2 separate regions of the Homo sapiens genome follow, and region 2 is linked to region 1. Evidence: promoter capture Hi-C in 16 types of primary human blood cells and fetal thymus (Javierre and others, 2016). All regions are on one chromosome and are shown on one strand. Each heading gives the region's core, a stretch centred on a gene start or on the middle of the fragment in contact. The rest is flanking DNA. Distances are from core to core; before and after follow the strand shown. Region 1 holds the start of NUDT15 (nudix hydrolase 15). Region 2 holds the start of DHRS12 (dehydrogenase/reductase 12).

The links. Contacts are between HindIII fragments. The CHiCAGO score rates a contact against its expected background, and 5 or more counts as called.
Region 2: the fragment with the promoter of DHRS12 here is called in contact with the fragment with the promoter of NUDT15 in region 1 in 5 of 17 cell types (naive CD8 T cells, fetal thymus, total B cells and 2 more); the score reaches 11.4 in naive CD8 T cells.

The regions. Positions count from the first base shown.
Region 1 is chr13:48,035,777-48,040,753 of GRCh38, reverse strand. It overlaps NUDT15 (nudix hydrolase 15), which reads right to left and starts at 3,028. Exons shown (of 3, transcript NM_018283.4): 1 at 2,850-3,028. The coding sequence starts at 3,007. LOC124903172 (a long non-coding RNA gene) reads left to right here and starts at 2,762. Exons shown (of 2, transcript XR_007063788.1): 1 at 2,762-3,148. RefSeq lists enhancers at 2,532-2,691, 2,742-2,981, 2,148-3,023, 3,024-3,900. The HindIII fragment of the contact is 6,950 bases long and covers 1-4,063 here.
Region 2 is chr13:51,802,117-51,806,457 of GRCh38, reverse strand. DHRS12 (dehydrogenase/reductase 12) reads left to right here and starts at 2,295. Exons shown (of 9, transcript NM_001377533.1): 1 at 2,295-2,404. LOC107984561 (a long non-coding RNA gene) reads right to left here and starts at 2,622. Exons shown (of 2, transcript XR_007063805.1): 1 at 1,657-2,622. RefSeq lists enhancers at 1,415-1,544, 3,930-3,979 and a silencer at 2,095-2,734. The HindIII fragment of the contact is 7,862 bases long and covers 1-3,498 here.

The sequences.
Region 1 (4,977 bases), core at 1,779-4,278:
TTGGTTCCTGCTTTAAAACAACAAATCAGCTGGGCATGTGGCTCATGTCTGTAATCTTTTGGAAGGCCGAGGCAAGAGGACAGCTTGAGTTCAGGAGTTGGAGACCAGCTGAGGCCAACATAGTGAGACCTCATCTCTCAAAAAAAAAAAAAATAGCCGGGCATGGTGGTGCGTGCCTATGGTCTGTGGTCCCAGCTACTCAAGAGGCTGAGGCAAGAGGATAGTTTGAGCCTGGGAAGTCAAGGCTGCAGTGAGCCATGATGGTGCCATTGCACTCCAGCCTGGACAAACAGCAAGACTTTGTCTCAAAAAATAGTAATAATAATTAATTAAAAAGATAAAGATTTAAAACCAGTAAATCAGCAACCTTGCCCTTGACATTATATCCTGTATCTAGTTATCTAAAGATGAAAAGGACTTAATATTGAATAAAAATTAACATTTAGCCATCTCAGCACTAATTTACAGCCCTGGAACCTGTGTGTAACAAGGAGGCAGTTTAGTGCATTAAGAGCAGACTTTGGAGTCAACTAGACCTGGGATTGAGCTCAAAGTTCATTACTTTCCACCTTGGACAAGTAAAAAGAGATTATATTACTTCCTCATGGGGTCACTGTAATTGTATCAAGAAGTGCCACTATGTCTTTTCCAGCAGTCTCAGAATTTCAATTTAAGCCTCAAAACTGAAGACAATAGGTAAAAAGCACTTCTAAATTCTCAAGCAAAAGGGCAAACAGATGTCATCTGAGCTCAAGCTCAAGCTAAGGAAGGCCAGACTAGACCTGTGACTTCTCCGTATCCAGGCTACATAAGAAAGACAGGAGGCCGGGCGCGGTGGCTCACGCCTGTAATCCCAGCACTTTGGGAGGCCGAGGCGGGCGGATCACGAGGTCAGGAGATCGAGACCATCCCGGCTAAAACGGTGAAACCCCGTCTCTACTAAAAATACAAAAAATTAGCCGGGCGTAGTGGCGGGCGCCTGTAGTCCCAGCTACTTGGGAGGCTGAGGCAGGAGAATGGCGTGAACCCGGGAGGCGGAGCTTGCAGTGAGCCGAGATCCCGCCACTGCACTCCAGCCTGGGTGACAGAGCGAGACTCCGTCTCAAAAAAAAAAAAAAAAAAAAAAAAAGGAGATGTTTGAGACAGAGGAAAGTTTGGAGTTTTCAGCCTAGTAGGAGCATTTCCCTTCCAGACTACAAGGGGCCAACTCTGCCCCCCCAAGACAGGTGAGGAACATTCCAAGAGAATCAGTCACAAGATTGGGAGTGACTCAAGAAGGAGATACTCAGTGTGTCACTCCCCTGCTAAAGACATCCTGAGCTGCAGAAACTCACAGGCCTACCCCAGTGCATCAGAAAAGGTGTGCTACAAGGGTGAAAGCTCTTGGGTAAATCTGAAATGTGTCCCTCGGAGTTTCCAGATGCAGATGAATACAGAGGTAGAGCAAGGAAAAAGGGCAGCAGTGGAAATATCATTCCCATTGTGTGTTTCCTTTGGGCCAAGCAGATGCCACAAGAGACTGCTGGGTAATCAAATAGGAGATCCCAGTAGAAAGAAAATGTGGGGTGATGTGCTAAAAGCAAGAGCTAGGAGGTGGGCCAGCATCACAGAAAGCCCGTCACCTATGTCAGGAAAATCTCTGTGGGACTTCCCAACAACTGACAAACATACCCTGAGAAAGCACACATGTGGATATCATGCCCAGAGGACACCAATGGATGGATCAGAGCAGCATCAGTCACCTGAATGGCTTGCTCTCTCTCCTCCTCCAACACACTGGAGAAAGAAGGAAACTCAGAGACAGCCAGGTGAGAAGAGGAGGAGGATACAGAAAAGCAGAACAATGGCTCACACCTCCTTTATGCACTGCAGGGGAGGGATTAGAAACTGGAAGTGACACTGAAGGTTTAAATTGGATTGGACTTTTAAATGCTTGGAAGTGAATCATACTGACCCAAATGTGATTTATTTTTATAACCAAGTGACAAGAAAACTATAGAATTTGCAGGAAACGTCACTGAAGAGGGAAAGAAAAAATCATGTTTGAAGGCAGTGGAAGGAGAAAATAAAACCATTTCCTGTTTGTTCTCCCATCAAATTTAGCCCACTGAGTATGCCAGTTATGTAAAGATCAAATGAAAGTATACATGCAAAGAGCTTGGCATATTATCCAGCCTTTAACAAAAAGCCCATTAGAGCTCAATGTTGGCTATGGTCATTGACCTCACGGGTGGATCACCTGAGGTCAGGAGTTCGAGACCAGCCTGGCCAACATGGCGAAACCCCGTCTCTACTAAAAATACAAAAATTAGCACGGCGTGGTAGCGGGCGCCTGTAATCCCAGCTACCAGGAGGCTGAGACACAAAAATCGCTTGAACCCAGGAGGCGGAGGTTGCAGTGACTGGAGATAGCACCACTGCACTCTGGCCTGGGCTACAGAGCGAGACACAGTCTCAAATCAATCAATCGATCAATCAATCAATCACATGGAAACGGTGCAATGTCTTAGCTGACAATATCGGGCTGCTGGAGGTTTACACACACCTGCTTTCCTCCTTTTGTGTGTAAGCTGTGAGAAACACACCTCACAGACGAACTCCCAACCACCACCCAGCAGGGGCGCAGCCGGAAAGACCCAGCTAGCAAAGACCTCGCCTGACCCAGCACAGCGCCCCCTCCTGGGCGCGATCCTACGTCGCCCAGAAGTCGAGGGGAGGAACCGAGGGAACGCGCAAGAAAGGACGCAGCGTCAGCGCGGACGTTCTCACGCACGGCACACGGAAGCAAGCACGGCGTGAGTTCGTCCCTCTGCGCACGCCCCGGTTTCCTCGCGTCCGCGGCTGCTCACCCGAACTCCAGATGACCTCCAGGGAGTTGGAAACTGCCAGCTCCAACCGAGCCTTTCCTCTTCCCCAGGAGGACGCAACGCGGATGCTTGCAGCTGGTCACCACGACTCCGACTCCGACTCCTGGCCGCCGCCCGCGCGGCTGTGCGCTGGCCGTCATAGCGCGCGGGAGGACGCGCCTGGCAGCGGCAGGAAGTGACGCGCTCACTACCCCGTCCCGCGGCCGCAGCCAATCTCTCCCCGCGAGGGCGGAGGCGCCGAAATCAAAGCGAGAGCGCCTCGGCCTCTCCAGCTGTCCGCGGTGCGTAATGCGTCGCGGAGGGCTATCAGGTTGGGGAATGCCGTGTTTCCTTCCGAAGGGCAGCGTGCCTTAGAGTTTCGCTGTAACTAAAGTCGCTTACAGTTGTGCTTTGAATATTCATCACCCGTCAGCCTATCCACTCCCAGATTCCTGCAAACCATGCATTTACATGTACAAGCCGCCTGCTCTTACCAACCTCGGCACCACTGCACATTCTTTTTTCCGTGAATGACCTCGCCCACCATGGTGCACCCATTTGCCCTGTAGCTCAAATCAGCGTGGTACCAGGATAAGGATAGGTCGTTTAGAAACATCCCATTATAAACAACTATGCTTAAGGTATATTCATAAGTCATGGGAGGAAATAAAGGCTAATTGATAAATCATGCTGGGAAGAGTTAGTTACAAACAGTGGAAAACAGACATTTTCAGATGTTTGCACACCATGCACCATGCAAAATACAAACCAGCTGAATCATAAAAACAAATGACTAGTTACTGGGAGGGTTTTCTCTCTTTCTCATTATTTTTACTTCTACCAAAGTAATGTGCACATACTGGTAATTTTATTTTATTTTAATTTTCACCAAGCTAGCTAATTTTCTTTCTTTTTTTTTTTTTTGTGGAGGTGGGCTGTCGGTCTTTTGTCGAGGCTGATCTCCAACTCCTGTCCTCAAGCAGTCCTTCCACTTGGGCCTACCAGAGTGCTGGGATAACAGGCGTGAACCACTGCGCCTGACCTATAGCTATAATTTTAAGAAGTAAAATGGTGCAAAAACCGCAACAAGAGCAACCTGACCCTCCTACTTTCAGAAACAATCACTTTTAACTCTTTGAACTGTATTTCTGATATTTGCCTACTTATTTCTAAGTAATATGCTTACTCTCCATGTTATACTAAATGGGTATTAAGCTTTTCACAGCATCTCTCCTCACTATCAACATTCACATTCATTACAAAGGTACTTACAATATCTTCTCAAAAAATGGTAGTATATAAAAAGGATAATATATTGAACAATGAGATTAATCCCAGAAATACTAGGTTGGCTTAATATTTGAAAAGCCAATGTAATTCAGCATATTAACAGAGGGAGAAAGGAAATACATATAATCATCTCAATAGATGCAGAAAAAAATTAATAAAATCCGATACTCAGTTGTGATTAAAAAAACTCCACAAAATCTCTGAGCAAACTAGAAATAAAATGAAACTTTAACATGATATATGGCATCTACAAAGACCTACAGCTAACATCATATTTAATGACTGTTTTGAGCTGAATTGTGTCCCCTCAAAATTCCTATGTCGAAGTCCTATCCCCCAGTACCTCAGCATTTGGAGACAGGATCAAGTTAAAATGAAGCCACTAGGGTAGGCCCTATTCTAATGTTATGACTGGTGTCCTCGCAAGAAGTAGAGATTAGAACCCAGACTGTGTTCTATTGGAAGACTGTATGATGACACAGGGAGAAGGCAGCCGTCTACAAGCCAAGGAGAGCAGCCTCAGAAGAAACCAAGTCTGCTGACACCTTGATCTTAGAATTCTAGCCTCCAGTATTGTGAGAAAATTAATTTATGTTATTTAAGCCACACAATCTTTGATACTTTGTTATGGCTTGATACTTTGTTATGGCAGCCATAGCACTAGCCTAGCCTTATCTTGGTGAAAGACAAGATTTGGGAGGAGCTAGGGTATCCACTCTGAGCACGTTTAGTCATCATGTTGCTGGAGATTCTAGTTAGCACAACTCATAAAATTTAAAAATCAATAAAACGTAGTTAAATTGGAAAGGAATAAGTAACCGTCTTTTTTTTTTAAAACAAT
Region 2 (4,341 bases), core at 1,046-3,545, 3.8 Mb before region 1:
TAGTGGCTTTCCACCCCTGGGAAATGAAGCAACCCTATCCACTTTGACGTTTCTCTTAAAAGCACCCTGGGCCTAACTTATTTAGCATCCATATGTAATTTTCTTAGTAGATGTATAGAAAGTTGGAGCTGAAAGGAGCCCTGGGTGGCGCCTAGTCTGGCCCCCTTTCTGTTCAGATGAGAAAAACTGAGGCCCAGAGGCTAAGTGACTTGCCCCCATTTAGTATGATGCAGCAGGGAAGGTGTGGGCTCTGGAATCATACTACCTGGTCTCAAAGCCTGGCTCCACCATGTATTTACTGTGACCTGAGTCAAGTTATGTAACCTCTCTCAGTTTGCTCATCTGTAAAATGGGGATAATAGCAGGAGTAACCATATGGATCAGTGTGAGAATTAAGTGCTATAATCCACAATGCTTGGCACACTTTAAGCCTTCTATACATTTTATCACATGGGTCACACAGGGAATAACTGGCAGAAATTGGACTAGAATCCAGCTCAGCTGACTCCAGTTAAACGGGAACATTCCCTTGTGAACTCCATACTGCCCTTTGTTTGTGTGTGTGTGTTACTTGGCATCCAGGTGAGAGTGGAAGCTCATTTTGAGACAGGGTTTGGCTTTTCCTAAGACCTCCTCTTTAAATGTATATAATGTATACACTAACTACCTCGTGGATGCTTGATTTGAGGCTAACACTGGACACCTCATGCCCTCATGGAAATTTCTTGAATGTACACTGCATGGCTGTAAGCGCAGGGGAAAAAGGAATGAGAAGAAAACTTAAGGAGGGAAACCAACACTTCTGATCACTTTGTATGAAACTAAGCTCTTTATAATGAATGCCTTTAATCACAACCACCCCACGAGGTGCGCATATTCATTCCCATTTTACATATTAAGAAACCAAGACTGAGGGTGTATGCAGCATGCTCAGGTTCACCTGGCTAATGCAGAGAGCTGGGTTTGCAGCCACACTTTTACTTCAAGGGGCTGCTGACACCCTCCAAGAGACTTGGTGGTTCAAAACTATTTCTCATCCCCTCTCTGCGAGCCAAAAGCCTATTTCCTGAGGTGTTCAGAGAGATTCAGAGCAGATTGACACCTTTTCCATCACTGACACAAAGAGGAGGGTATAAAAAACAGTATGTAGCCCTGGGGATCTAAAATATTTTCCCAGCCAAATCGGACAGGCATTGAAAGTCACACAGGCTGGGGTGGTTTTACAAAATGCCACTTGTTTAAATTTCCTTTCATCACTCTGTCAGGAATAACAGCAACGTAGTGGAGCCTCAGAGTCCTGTTGAGAGGGGCGAGCTGTTCCGGGGAAATTTATTTCAAAAGTTATTCTGAAGTAAAAACTTGCCCACTGTGGAGTGAGGTTGGACAGTGATCCTATATCCTAGGTAATGAGGCTATTAAAGCAGCTGGTCTCTTCAGCTTATGTAAGTGGGGCCCAGTCTCTGGGCGACTTGGGTAAACCGGTATAGAATTTAACAGGGTGACTAGGAGTGACAGCAGCAGTAAGACCCCCATTTCTAATGTGGCGTTAGGGCTGGAGGTTAGATGTGGACAGGGGTGTCTGAGTCCTACATAATGGGGCTGGATGACTAGTCTGAGATCTGGGTTCACGCAGCAACCACACTCTTTTTTACTCACACTGTTCATCTGGGCTTGGGTGGAAAGAGGCTGATGAGGATTTGGGGGAAATCAAGGGGCTCTCCCTGGCATTGCATGAAGTCGCAGAACCAGTGGCAAAAGTCCAACTTTGGAGACAATTACTTCTCGGGTGGGAGCCCCAGCCCTGCCTCTTGCCTGCGATGTCGCCAATCTGACTGCGCTTGCTGGAGACGGGAAATGTGGCACGGCACTGCATCCCCCAACACGTGTAGAAACTTAGAGAATGCCAGTTATTAAAATAACCCTTATGATAACACCAATTCGATGCAGAAGTCTTTTAAATATCATAAGCCTCGTCGTTTTATTCCACATGGTTTTCTAGGTAACCAAATTCTAGGAGGTGCGTTGCAGGGCCATCTTCGCATCCCGGCCATGCCCAGCAGGACGGTGTTCTCTAAACGGCGCTGATGCCCGATTTCGACCCCGAGGAGACTGCGGACCTCGACTGCGGCCCCCACCAGGGCCGGTCCGCCCTCACTCCACCCTCTGAGGCTGGGGCGGAGTCGACCGGCCGGCCCCGAGACCCCTTGCCTTACCGGTGGAGCAAGGAACCGGAAGCCGCGGCTCTTACATAACCGGGATGATGTCAGGGCGGGCGACTCCCGGGGGGCGGGACCAGGGCGGAGGCCGCGCCGGGAGCGCGGTGGGGCTAGGCGTGGGGCGCTCCCGGCATGTCCCTGTACCGCAGCGTCGTGTGGTTCGCCAAGGGGCTGCGCGAGTACACCAAGTAAGGCGGCGCGGCGGGGCGCGGGGCCCCGGGCTGTCACGTGGCCCGCCTCGGCGCGGGCGAGCAGGGTTGGCGGGGACGCGCCCGCGGCTCCTTCGCCCTCTCGCTGGGCCGACTAAGCGTGTCCAGAACGACGGGTGCGCCCGCCGTCTAGCGACCCACGGCTGGGCGTGGGGCAGTCGCCAGACTCCAGCCGCTCAATGCCCGCGACCGAGACTGGCGCCCGAGGGGCGGGGCTGTGGCGCGCCCAAGCCCAGGGCCGTCCCACTGACGTCAGGCGGCCCCGGCGCCAAGGAGCCTCTTGGGCGGCACCTCGGCGCCCCGCTGGGTGTGCTCGTGGAAGTGTCTTCGTGGTGCTGCTGGCGGCGTCAGATAGGGCTGGATCTAAATCGCTAGCTAAGGCTCTGTCCTAGTGCCTTTGGGTGTGTTTCCTTTAAAAAGATGCAGCACCTGGACTGCGACCTTTGGCTCCAGCTGGAACTTTCCAGCCAGTGTGTGCTTCTGGGGAACGGTGCGTGGTGGTTTCGTCGCCCCGTGACCACGCTCAGTGTGCCCTAGTTGGCTCTCCACCTCATTGTGGTTTTAAGAGGTGACAGGTTCCTGTGACGGAGGAGAGATGGAGGTTTTCTCTTAGAATTGATTAGGCTAACCGCTGGTTCTCAACCCTGTCTGCACATCAGAATCACTGGGCGAGAATTAAAAGTACCCAGTTTTCAGGCCCCATCCCTACAGATTCTGATTTAGTGGATCTGCACAGGGGCCTGGACTGGCATTTCATCCAAATGCCCCAGGTGATTCTCACCTCTGAGAGGCTTCTCCCTGCACTGGGGCTTTATCAGTTCCCACGGCAACCTGGCCAGCACTCCTAGGGGAGGTAGGAGTTGCAACTCCCTGCTCTTCACCCCACATCGTTTTGGAGAAGGTTCAGCTCTGTCTCAGGAGCCCCTGCTGCAGAGAATGGTGGGGAGTGTAGTCGTGAGCCCTGTCCCACAGTTTTTAGGGGAATACAGTGGCAGCCTCTTTCTTTCAAAGGGGTGTCCTCTGGCAATGACCATTAATTGCTGGATCTTTCCACATTACACAGCATGAAAGCTTAAGTCAGTTTCCAACCAGGGGTGGGCCCCAAGGAAAGCAGACTGTAAAAATTTCTCCCAGGACTCTTTCGCTCTGATTTCCCCACCTTGAGGGAAGGTAGAAGTGAGGCCAAGGGGCCCAATCCACCACAGATTGGTGGGGGAAGGGAGGGGAGGGGAAGGCAGTTGGCAAAGTTAGATGGGTTTTCCTGCTGTTGTGGATTTAGTGAATAGGAGAGAAAAACAACAACCTTGTTTTGACTTCAGTGTGAGAGCGCGGAGTTAGAGTTTACAACGTTTCTCTTGGCACAAGGATTTTTATAAAGCCTCCCTATATTGGGCTCCTAAGGCAGGAGGATCTAATCACTGTTTCCTAAACTTTGCTGAACCTAATAATTCCCTGGGGCAGTTTTAAACAGACTCCTAAACCCTGGGCAAGTGTGGATGGGTCCTAAGCAAATTTCATATTTGGGTAAATTGAGGGTGTGGGGAGACACAGATACCTGCCAGCTTCCTCCTCCCCATCCCTGTCACCTCAGCTTCAGGAAACAGTAAGTACAAATGTCCTCTCAGCTTGAGTCAAAATCACTGGCAAGGCACATGAAACCACAGGTTGCCAAGCAATCACTTCTGAGTCAGTAGGCAGGGCATTTCCAACAGGTTTCCAGATGATGCTGATGCAGCTTGTCTGGGGACTGCCCTTTGGCACCGAGGCTGGGTGTTGAAGAAGATCACCTACCTTCTGGTGACCTTGGGAAAGTCGTGTGTGTGTGTGTGTGTGTGTGTGTGTGTGTGTGTGTGTGTGTGTGTGAAAAATAGAGACTGATATCTAGAGACTGATTTCTAGAGTGAAAATAAAATGCT